2 separate regions of the Homo sapiens genome follow, and region 1 is linked to region 2. Evidence: promoter capture Hi-C in human tissues and cell types (Jung and others, 2019). All regions are on one chromosome and are shown on one strand. Each heading gives the region's core, a stretch centred on a gene start or on the middle of the fragment in contact. The rest is flanking DNA. Distances are from core to core; before and after follow the strand shown.

The links. Contacts are between HindIII fragments. The study calls those that stand out against the background at their distance.
Region 1: a contact is called between a fragment that was not itself captured here and the fragment with the promoter of MESP1 in region 2, in 1 of the 25 tissues and cell types used here (bladder).

The regions. Positions count from the first base shown.
Region 1 is chr15:90,239,752-90,245,335 of GRCh38, forward strand. It overlaps GDPGP1 (GDP-D-glucose phosphorylase 1), which reads left to right. Exons shown (of 4, transcript NM_001013657.3): 4 at 1,149-5,584. The coding sequence starts at 1,158. The coding sequence ends at 2,315. It also overlaps a transcript of CIB1 not described here. Among named protein-coding and RNA genes, the nearest start is that of TTLL13, 7.0 kb to the right of the region's middle. The HindIII fragment of the contact is 7,306 bases long and covers 1-4,903 here.
Region 2 is chr15:89,747,512-89,752,727 of GRCh38, forward strand. It overlaps MESP1 (mesoderm posterior bHLH transcription factor 1), which reads right to left and starts at 3,738. Exons shown (of 2, transcript NM_018670.4): 1 at 2,998-3,738; 2 at 2,364-2,716. The coding sequence starts at 3,720. The coding sequence ends at 2,633. It also overlaps the pseudogene MRPL15P1. RefSeq lists silencers at 3,009-3,298, 3,359-3,788. The HindIII fragment of the contact is 13,666 bases long and covers 1-5,216 here.

The sequences.
Region 1 (5,584 bases), core at 1-2,500, 490 kb after region 2:
AGGCTGGACTGCAATGGTGCGATCTCGGCAGTGCCTGGTGGCACATGCCTGTAGTTCCAGATACTTGGGATGCTGAGGTGAAAGAATCCCTTGAGCCTGGGAGGTCAAGGCTTCAGGGAGACATGTATGCACCACTGCACTCCTGCCTGGGTGACAGAGTGAGAACCTGTTTCAAAATAAAATAGGCCGTGGCTGGGCGCAGTGGCTCACACCTGTAATCCCAGCACTTTGGGAAGCCGAGGTGGGTGGATCACCTGAGGTCAGGAGTTCAAGACCAGCCAGACCAACATGGTGAAACCCTGTCTCTACCAAAAATACAAAATTAGCTGGCTGTGGTGGCACATTCCTATAATCCCAGCTACTTGGGAGGCTGAGGCCAGAGAATCGCTTGAACCTGGGAGGTAGAGGTTGCAGTGAGCCAAGATAGCGCCATTGCACTCCAGCCTGGGTGACAGAGTGATAAATAAATAAATAGGCCAGGTGCAGTGGCTCAGGCCTGTAATCCCAGCACTTTGGGAAGCCGAGAGGGGAGGGTCACCGGAGGTCAGGAGTTCAAGACCGGCCTGGCCAATGTGGTGAAACCCTGCCTCTACTAAAAATACAAAAATTAGCCGGGCCTGGTGGCGGGTGCCTGTAATTCCAGCTGCTTGGGAGGCTGAGGCATGAGAATCACTTGAACCCAGGAGGTGGAGGTTGCAGTGAGCCAAGATCGCGCCACTGCCCTCTAGCCTGGGCAACAGAGTGAGACTCTGTCTCAAAAAAATAAAAATAAATAAATAAGCTGTGCATGTTGGTTCATGCCTGTAATCCCAGCACTTTGGGAGGCCAAGGCAAAGGGATCACCCGATGTCAGGAGTTCAAGACCAGCCTGGCCAACATGGTGAAACACCATCTCTACTAAAAATACAAAAATTACCCGGGCATGGTGGTGCCTGCCTGTAACCCCAGCTGCCCAGGAGGCTGAGGCGGGAGAACCGCTTGAACCCAGGAGGCGGAGGTTACAGTGAACCAAGATCACTGCCACTGCACTCCAGCCTGGGTGACAGAGTGAGACTCCATCTCAAAAAAAAAAATAAATAAATAAATACAATGACAATCTCTGGAGGTGGGTTACCATCATGTGTTTTCATCTTTTATGACTATTTCAGGTCAGCTCTATGGCTCTTCCACATGATTCAAACGAAACTTCCTATTTGCTGCCTCCCAACAATGAGGACTGGGGCAGGCAAACCATTCCTGACTTTGTTTATGGGCAGAAGGATCTCATGGCAGAAGGGATTCAGTGGCCAAGGAATGCACCTGGCATCCCAGATGCTCTGCCACAATCTCCCTTTGATGCTGCACTCTGCTCTGCCTGGAAGCAGCGGGTGGAGCTGGGGCTGTTTCGCTACCGTCTACGGGAGCTACAGACCCAAATCCTCCCTGGTGCTGTGGGTTTCGTGGCTCAGCTGAATGTGGAGCGTGGTGTGCAGAGGAGGCCCCCGCAGACCATCAAGAGTGTGAGGCAGGCATTTGACCCTGTACAGTTCAACTTCAACAAGATCCGGCCCGGAGAAGTCCTCTTCCGTTTGCACCGGGAGCCTGATCTCCCTGGGACTCTGCTGCAAGAAGACATCCTGGTGGTGATCAACGTCAGCCCCCTGGAGTGGGGCCACGTGCTGCTGGTGCCTGAGCCTGCCCGCCAGCTCCCCCAGCGCCTGCTGCCGGGTGCACTGAGGGCAGGGATTGAGGCTGTGCTGCTGAGCTTACACCCGGGCTTCCGTGTCGGCTTCAACAGCCTGGGAGGCTTGGCCTCGGTGAACCACCTCCACCTGCATGGCTATTACCTGGCCCACAGACTGCCCGTGGAGCAGGCGCCAAGCGAGCCCCTGGACCCTGGAGGCCATTTGCATCTGCTCCAGGACCTCCCAGCTCCTGGCTTCCTCTTTTACACTCGTGGGCCAGGGCCTGACTTGGAGTCCTTGATAAGCAGGGTATGTCGGGCCACTGATTATCTGACTGACCATGAGATTGCTCATAACTTGTTTGTCACCCGGGGAGCTCCGCCGGGAAAGACATCACCTTCCTCAGCCCTCACAGGGGTCCGAGTAATTCTGTGGGCCCGGAAGTCCAGCTTTGGGATAAAGGACGGTGAAGCTTTCAATGTTGCCCTCTGTGAGCTGGCTGGGCACCTCCCTGTCAAAACATCCCAGGACTTCAGCAGCCTGACAGAGGCAGCTGCTGTGGCCCTCATTCAGGACTGTCGGCTGCCCCCATCCCAGGCAGAAGACGTACAGGCAGCACTGGTGGCCCTGATGTCCCAGGAAGAGCAATAATACTTCTGGATGTATTTATGTTCTTTTTTTCTTTTCTTTTGAGATAGGGTCTCACTCTGTCCCCAGGCTAGAGTGTAGTGGTATGATCCTGGCTCACTGTAGCCTCCACCTCTGGGGCTGAAGTGATCCTCCCACCTCAGCCTCTTGAGTAGCTGAGACTATAGGCGTGCACCACCACACACCTGGCTTTTTTTTTTTTTTTTTTTTTTTTTAACGATTAGGTGATTTTGTATTTTTTTATATAGACAGCGTTTCACCATGTTGCCCAGGCTGGTCTTGAACTCTTGGGCTGAAGCAGTCCTCCCACCTCGGCCTCCCAAAGTACTGAGATGACAGGAGTGAGCCCCTGGATTCTTTTCTGTTTCTTTTTTTTTTTTTTTTTTTTTTTTTTTTTTTGAGATAGTCTCGCTCTGTCACCTAGGTTGGGGTGCACTGGTACAATCTCGGCTCACTGCAACCTCCACCTCTAGGGTTCGAGTGATCCTCCTGGCTCAGCCTCCCGAGTAGCTGGGACTATACAGGCTCCTGCCACCAAACCCGGCTAATTTTTTTGTATTTTTAAAAGAGAAGGGGTTTCACCACATTGGCTAGGCTGGTCTTGAACTCCTGACTTTAGGTGATCCGCCCGCCTCGGCCTCCCAAAGTGCTGGGATTACAGGCGTGAGCCACCACACCCAGCCAGGATGTATTCATTTTCTACCTGATGAGTCCCTTTCCAGAGCACTGTCCATCATAGTCCTTTGGACATTTATTTTCATGGCTGCCTTCTCACCTGTCTCAGCCTAAGAAGAAGGATGAAGAAAGCTGATAATGATCTCTTAAAGGGGAGAAAGATAATGGTCTCTTTAAAGGGGAGCTGATAGTGGTCTCTTTAAAGGGGAGAAAATCTGGAATAATTCTACTGAGTAAGACATCATGAATGTATCTGCTACCTCTCCCCGTTCTTGTTCAAGCCCCAGGGGTGTTAAAAAGGAGTGTGTGTGACAGTTACACACTCCTGACTTTACATTTAGATTTTGTCTTCCTTTGATATCAAATGTTAGCACGGTAATAGTGCCTGTGCCTCCAGTATTGAGCTGCCACTTCTGTTCTCAGCCTGTTTATTCCCCTTTGCTCACCACTTATTTTTATTGCTTTGTCCCTTCTTTCCATTTAGCCCTGCTCCACCCAAATGCCCCACTCCTTCACTTTCCCTGCCACCTTGAGCTTTCCTCTAGCCCCCAACACCAAGTTGAATGCTCTTCACTGACATCATCTGATGTAAAAACACAGTGTTGTCACAACTTTCCGGGTGCACGTCTTTTTTTGTTTTGTTTTTTTGTAAGGCTGGGGTGCAGTGGTGCAATCACAGCTCACTGCAGACCCAAACTCTTGGTCTCAAGCCACCCTCCCACCTCAGCCCCCTGAGTAGCTGGGACGATAGGTGTGCACCATCACACCTGGCTAATTTTTAAATTTTTTGTAGAGATAGGGTCTTGCTATGTTGCCCGGGTTGCTGTCAAACTCCTGGCCTTAAGAAATCCTCCCACCTCGGCCTCCCAGAGTGCTAAGATGCCACCACACCTTGGTGCAGGTTTTTTTTTTTTTTTTTTTTTTTTTTTTTTGACACAGGGTCACTGTCACCCAGGCTGGAGTGCAGTGGTATGAAGACAGCTAACTGCAAGCTTCAACCTCCTGGGCTCAAACAATACTCCCATCTCAGCCTCCCTAGTAGCTGGGACCACAGGCATGCGCCACCACACCCGGCTATTTTTTTGGAGAGATAGCATCTTGCCAAGTTGCCCAGGCTGGTCTCGAACTCCTGGCCTCAAGATCCTCCCACCTCAGCCTCCCAAAGTGCTGAGATTATAGGCATGAGCCACTGCACCTGGCCTGAGTTTTTTTTTTTTTTTCTTGAATCAGAGTTTCACTCTGTTGCCCAGGCTGGAGTGCAGTGGTGTGATCTCGGCTCACTGCGTCTCTGCCTCCTGGGTTCAAGCAATTCAGCCTGAGTCTTCTTAATACCCCCATTCAAAACGGGATGGAGACTGACAGTTTGTACTTTGTTCAAGGTCAGGCAGCTGGAGTCGGGACTGCAGCACAGGCAGGTACCAGAAGATGAGCTGGGACAATGTGTGCTTGTGACCGCCTCTCCAGTCAGTGGTTCCCATGGTGGGTAGCACTGTCCTTAACAGTTTGCCCTCCCTGAGCCTCAGCCATCCCTCTTGGGGTCTTTCCCAAGCACTTTAGAAGCTCCTCTTGATGTAGACACAAAATCCAAAGCTAAGTCGTTGTTCCTCCGTCTGCATCTGAGTCAATGTGGGAAATTTTTTTTTATCTCATTGCTTTGTTCTGTCCTGTTTCTCCAGACATTTCACACTGGTTCCAGAGGAACTAGTCAGTAGACACTATTCTAAGAGAGTATGTGGGTGTGAAATCTCATTTTCCTTTTAGCTCCCTTGAATGTTATACAGCAAAAGTAAAAGAAGTCTTGGGTTGGCTGGGCACGTTGGCTCACACCTTTAATCCTAGCACTTTGGGAAGCCGAGGCAGGCAAATCACTTGTCAGGAGTTCGAGACCAGCCTGGCCAACATGGTGAAACCCCATCTCTACTAAAAATACAAAAATTAGGCGTTGTGGCGGCCACCTGTAATCCCATCTACTTGGGAGGCTGAGGCAGGAGAATCACTTGAACCCAGGAGGCGGAGGTTGCAGTGAGCTGAGATTGCACGACTGTACTCCAGCCTGGGCGATAGTGCGAGACTCAGTCTCAAAATAAATAAATACATAAAGTCTTGGGTCCAGCTCTCAACAGAGATTATCACCGCCACCACTCCTTCATCAAACATCCTGAAGGAATGAGAGTCCCTGTTCACAGCGTAAGGGTGAAAGGGGGCTCACACAGGTGGGTTCTGGCTGCTGTCTGAGTGGGCTCACCCAGGAGGGGTTTTGATTTCTCTGCCTCCCAAACTGTGGGTCCTAGCCCTGGCTTAGGCCTTCAGGTCGTTGGCTCCCTATACCTAGGCCTGTATAAAGCCTTAGTTTCCAGTTTTCATTAGAGGTTTTACATCCCAAATGATGTTACAAAGTCTCCCTGTGATAAAGCAGAATATGTGTCCATAGCCCATTTTATAAGAAAAACAGTTTAGGCCAGGTGCGGTGGCTCACGCCTGTAATCCCAGCACTTTGGGAGGCTGAAGCAGGCAGATCACAAGGTCAGGAGTTCAAGACCAGCCTGGCCAACATGGTGAAACCCCGTCTCTACTAAAAACACAAAAATTAGCTGGGT
Region 2 (5,216 bases), core at 2,488-4,987:
GTGCAGTCCTTCTCACTACTCCCTCCACGGCACGTGGGGCCTGGCCCAGACCACTCCACAGTGGGGCACCCTGACTGGGCCTCAGGGGAGGTGAGGCGCCCCCCAGTACCCTCTGTTCTTGAGACAAGCTGGTGTTCAGCCGAAGCGAAGGCAGCACACCTGGTGATTACGCACACAGGTCTGGAGTCACAGCCGGGTCCAGATCCCAACACTGCCACCCACCATCTGCAGCCTTTTTCTTAACGCTCCTGTTCTTAAAGTGGCCCTGCAGCTGGGGTTACCTTGCAGCGGGGCTGAGAACTGAGGTGAGGGAGGCTCCACTACCACCCGGCACGGGGCGCCTACCTGGACGCTGGCTACTGTTGTCGGCTCTGTGAACAGGCACACAGGGTTTCCTCCGGGTGTGGGATGGGGCTGCCCGGGATGGGGGTTGGGGATGCTGGAGCAGTGGGAGATGTCCCCTGCCTATCTCCAGTCCTGAGTCTGGGCAGCTATTAGCAGAACCTTGTTAATGAAAATTCACACCTAGGTGCTAATAAACACTGGGCCACTCCCAGGCTCAGAGGCGGAGGAGAAGCCCTCTGCAGGGAAGGGGGCTAGCCAATGAGCCCCACTTATCTGTGAAAAGACTTGCTAATAACTTTAATTCCCCATTCTAAAACGCAGGGCCTTTGCCATGCAAATAGATCTTCTAAGCTGTGTCGGCTCCAGAAAACTTCCCACTCTACCCCAGTTAGGGTCCTGGGAGGGGAGTGAGAGATGGGACAGAGGAGCAGGAAAGGGGGTGACCCGCGGAGGTGTGAGGTCCCACCCCGCTGCAGGCCTGACTTTTGGAGCCCACTCTGTGGCCAAGCGCCAGGCCGGGTGTGCCCTGCCTGGCCTGGACCCCTGAACTGCAGATCAGGGACTCGATCCCACTCTGCATTACCGCCCCTCCTGGCCCGGGCCGGAGTACTGGAAGTGATCTCTGAAGCAGTTGAAAAACAAACCGAGCGGCATCAGCGGATGAACCACGGATAAACCAACTGTCATGTAGCTGAACAATGGAAGATTATTGGGCAATAAAAAGAAACGAAGTTCTGACACAGGAGGCAGCATGATGAGCCTTAAAAACATTGTGCTCAGTGAAAGAAGCCAGACACAAAAGGCCGTATTTTGCGATTCCTTTTATATGAAATGTCCTGAAAAAGCAAACCTATAGAGACAGAGACTAGAAGAGTGAGTGCCAGGGACTGGGAGTAGGGAATAGTGAGGAGTGATGTTAACAGGTATACGGTTTCTTTTGGGGGGTGAAAACGTTCTAAAATTAGTGGCAATGCTTGCACAACTCTGTGGATGTACTAAAGCCATTCAGTTGTTAAAAGAGTGAATTTTATGGTATGTGAATTGTATCCTAATAAAGCTCTTATAAAAACAGACACTGAAGCCTGTGTTTCAGACACTTGAAGGAGAGGAGGGGAGAACTGGGTATCTATCCATAGAGGGTAAAGGACGCTTGGCAGAGAGGCTACACATCCCTTCTCCCCACCGCACCCTCTAATCATGACTGTTGCCCAGACACCCTGGCTGGATGAGGACACACTTTCTGGGCTCAAGCCTCCCGTTTCTTGCTCCCTGATGTGAATCCAGCCAATGCAGACAGGCACGCAACTGCCTGTGTGGATTCCGATGCAACCCCATGGGCCCCTCATCTCACCCCATCTAGGCCTGTAGGAGGTCATGGTTATATAAACTCAGGACCGCCACACCATTATTTATGTCTCTAAGCCACAAGGTGGGGAAACCAGAGAAAAGGCAGATGGGAAAATGCCGGCGGAGGGTGGGGGAGTTCCAAGGCCAGGATGCTCCCGTGCATGGAGAATAAGACCACAGGATGCAAGAAAATAACCCCTTGGAGCTGTTATCCCTCAGGCCCCAACATGTATGGAGCTGGCAAAATCCCACAAGAGCTGAGCGCTGGGACTCTGGAGGCCTACCTGGGCTTGAGCGCTGATCCTCATCCTTCTGTAAAATGGTTACTTGAGTATAATAGGTACCTGATGTACATACAATAAATACTCAATAATGGAGTTGTATTTCTACACAGATATTTTGGTTTTAACCAGTTCCCCACCAGGTTCAAAGAAAAGATGAGCAGATTCTACTTGCCGCTGCCTTCTCACAGGACGTCCCTCCCCACCCATTCCAGGCTGACCCATCTGGACTAGATGCTGAGCCAGGGCTGGGGGTAAGGCCAAAGGGGTCTGGGCCTGTGGGGGTCGGGGGGCTAAAGATTGCAAGAACCCCTCCCACCTCTCCCATGCTCTTCTTTGGAGGGAGAGAGGGAGCTCTGTGTCCACGGGTAGGAAGAAGAAATTGCCAACTGACACCAGTACAGTTTATTCACAAATAAATAAATTCACATTAGGCAGAGCCTCCTGCTTGCCTCAAAGTGTCTAGCCCTATGGGTCCCTCCATGGAGGGAGGGGCTGAGAAGGGCCGCCGCGGTGGGGACGGCTCTCACCCGCAGGAATGCCCCCGTCGGGATCGCCCGTGCCCTCTTCCAGGAAAGGCAGTCTGCCAAGGAACCACTTCGAAGGTGCTGAGGCCAAAAAGCCTCGGTGCTCACAGAGACGGCGTCAGTTGTCCCTTGTCACTTGGGCTCCTCAGGCAGCCACTCCAGAGGCGAGAGGGGCATCCAGGTCTCCAACAGAGCCAGCACGTCGCCCGGAAGGAGCTGTAGGGAGAGACGGAACAGCGCAGCCCTCAAGCACTGGTGGCCTTGTGCGGGTGTCCGCGCTCGTGGGCTCCACTCTCAGGGGGCCCCTAGCGAGGGGAGACCCAGTCCTCTGCGTGGCCTTTCCCTGCCTTCGCTTCTTGGAGCCCTGGGCATACTATGGTGGCCAGGTGGCCAGGCTGCCGGCGGGGAGCAGCAGGGTGCCTGGTCCTCACCTTGGCGGGCGGTGGGGCTGTGCGCGGGGGCACGGACGAAGGGGGCGCGGGGAAGGGGACACTAACCGGGGACGGTGGGCTTGGCTCCATCGCCTGCCCTTCAGGGCACGCCGCCTCGGCGAACAGCGCAGGCGGGTCGCGCGGCTCGGGTGCAGCTCGGGCTCCGGGGCAGGCAGGCGGGGATCCCCAGGACGCCCCGGCGCGGACGGCGGATACCAGGCCCAGCCCGCGCCCCTGCCCCTGCCCCTCAGCCTGCGTCCGTGTCTGCATCTGCGCGGGGCAGTCGTCGGGGCACAGCGGGCAGCCCCGAGGGGACCCCGCGTCACCGCGCTGCCGGCACCGGCGCTGGAGACTCTCCTCGCTGAGGCCTAGCACGGCCGACAGGTGGCCGATATAGCGGATAGCCAGGCGCAGCGTCTCGATCTTGGTCAGGCTCTGGCCCGCGGGCGCCACGGACGGCGGTAGAAAGCGGCGCAGCTCGTGCAGGGCGCGGGCCAGCGTGCGCATGCGCAGTTTCTCCCGCTCACTGGCGCTCTGCCTCTGCCCGCTGCCCAGGCGGCTGCTGCGCGCGCCGCGCCTACCTACGGAGGGGGCGCGGGGGTCCCGGAGGGTGCCTGGCCGCGCGGGGCTCGCCACGGGGCTGTCGGCTGGGGTGCTGCCCCATGAGTCTGGGGACGAGACGAGGGAGCGGCCGCAGTCCTTGTCGGAGGGCGGCGGCCGCCGAGTTGGGCCCCAGGCCGCAGAGAGCATCCAGGACTCGGAGAGCGGCGGGCACAGGGGCTGGGCCATGGCAGCGGCGGCGCGTCTGGGGGCCGGCGGCCGGCGGCCGCTTTATGCCGAGCCCGAGGTGTGAAGTGGCCCCTTCCAGGCCGCATCAGCACATCAAAGTGGGCTCGGGGCTTGGAGGGGGCGGAGCCTGACCCTTTGAATCCACGGCGGGGGGCCAAGGTGCCAGCCCCTTGACTGCGCCTGTTTCGCCCCACCTGGGCCCTCGCTTGGGCGCCCGACCCAGCCTCTCGGCCTTCCCGCCTGCGCCCAGTGTTGGGTGAAGCCCGGGGCGTTGGGCCAGCCCTGCAGGTTAAAGGAAGCGGGGTCAGAAAAACGAAATCTAGATCCTAGGTTTGGGGCCTGCCTTCACCTGTTGGGGACCTTATGCAAATTCTTAGTTCTTTTGCACCTTAGCTTCCAATTTGTATAATGAGAGCCTCAGGGCATGCGCCAATTGGACAGTGGAGTAGAGTAAGGACCAGGAGCAGGGACCCTCATTCCCTCTAAAGGTGGAGAAAACAGTAAACCACTTCTCCTTTGAGGCAGGATGGCCCTGGGTAGACCCTTCCCTGGTAAGAACATGTGGACAGTGCAAGGAAGCTTGCACCCCGGCAAATTCAATAAGCTGCCGAGTCTGGTCAGGATGCTGGACCTTCTGAGCAGAGGGAGGGGGTTAAGCCTGCTCCAACCCCAGGCCACCTCTAGCCTGGCAAGGTCTGGAGCTTGGCCTGTTGCCACAGCTGTCACCACTGGCCTTTACCTGATGTTCTGCCGCTATTGGACAGGTATAACAGGTTTTCCCAATGAAATGTGAGTGGAAATGACGCAGCAAAGGCATTTGACAAAATCCAACACCCTTCGTGATGAAAATTCTCAGCAAACTAAGAATAGAGAGGAATTTCATCAACCTGATGAAAGGCTCCTACAAAGAACCTACAGGTAGCCTCATACTGAGTAGTGAAAGACTGAAATCTTCCCCCCACCCCCCGATTGCAGGAACAAAGCGAGGGTGTCTCTCTTACCACTCCTATTCAACATTGTACCAGATGGAGGATCTAGGCTATGCAATTAGGAAACAAAAGACATACAGGTCAGAAAGGAAGAAATAAAACTCTTTTCGCAGGTTATGGCAGCTCTGGGCCCTGCTGCGCATGAGCCTGACCAATTTAAAGCGGAATCCTGGCTCCAGGAAACCCATGAGACGACCAAAAGGTCGGAGAAGAGGTAGAAAATGCGGCAGAGGCCATAAAAGAGAAAGGCAGAGAGGAAACTGGCTCTGCTGGGCTTTGGGGATGGCCAGACTCTATTTTACATCGGAATCCCAAAATACAGATTTAATGAAGGACTTAGCTTCAGACACCAGTATCAACCTTTAAGTATCAATAGACTGTAATATGTTACTGATTTGGGTCGTGTTGATCCTACTCAACCTATTGACTTAACCCAGCTTGTCAATGGAAGAGGTGTGACCATTCAGCCACTTAAAGAGGATTATGGTGTTCAGCTGGTCGAAAAGG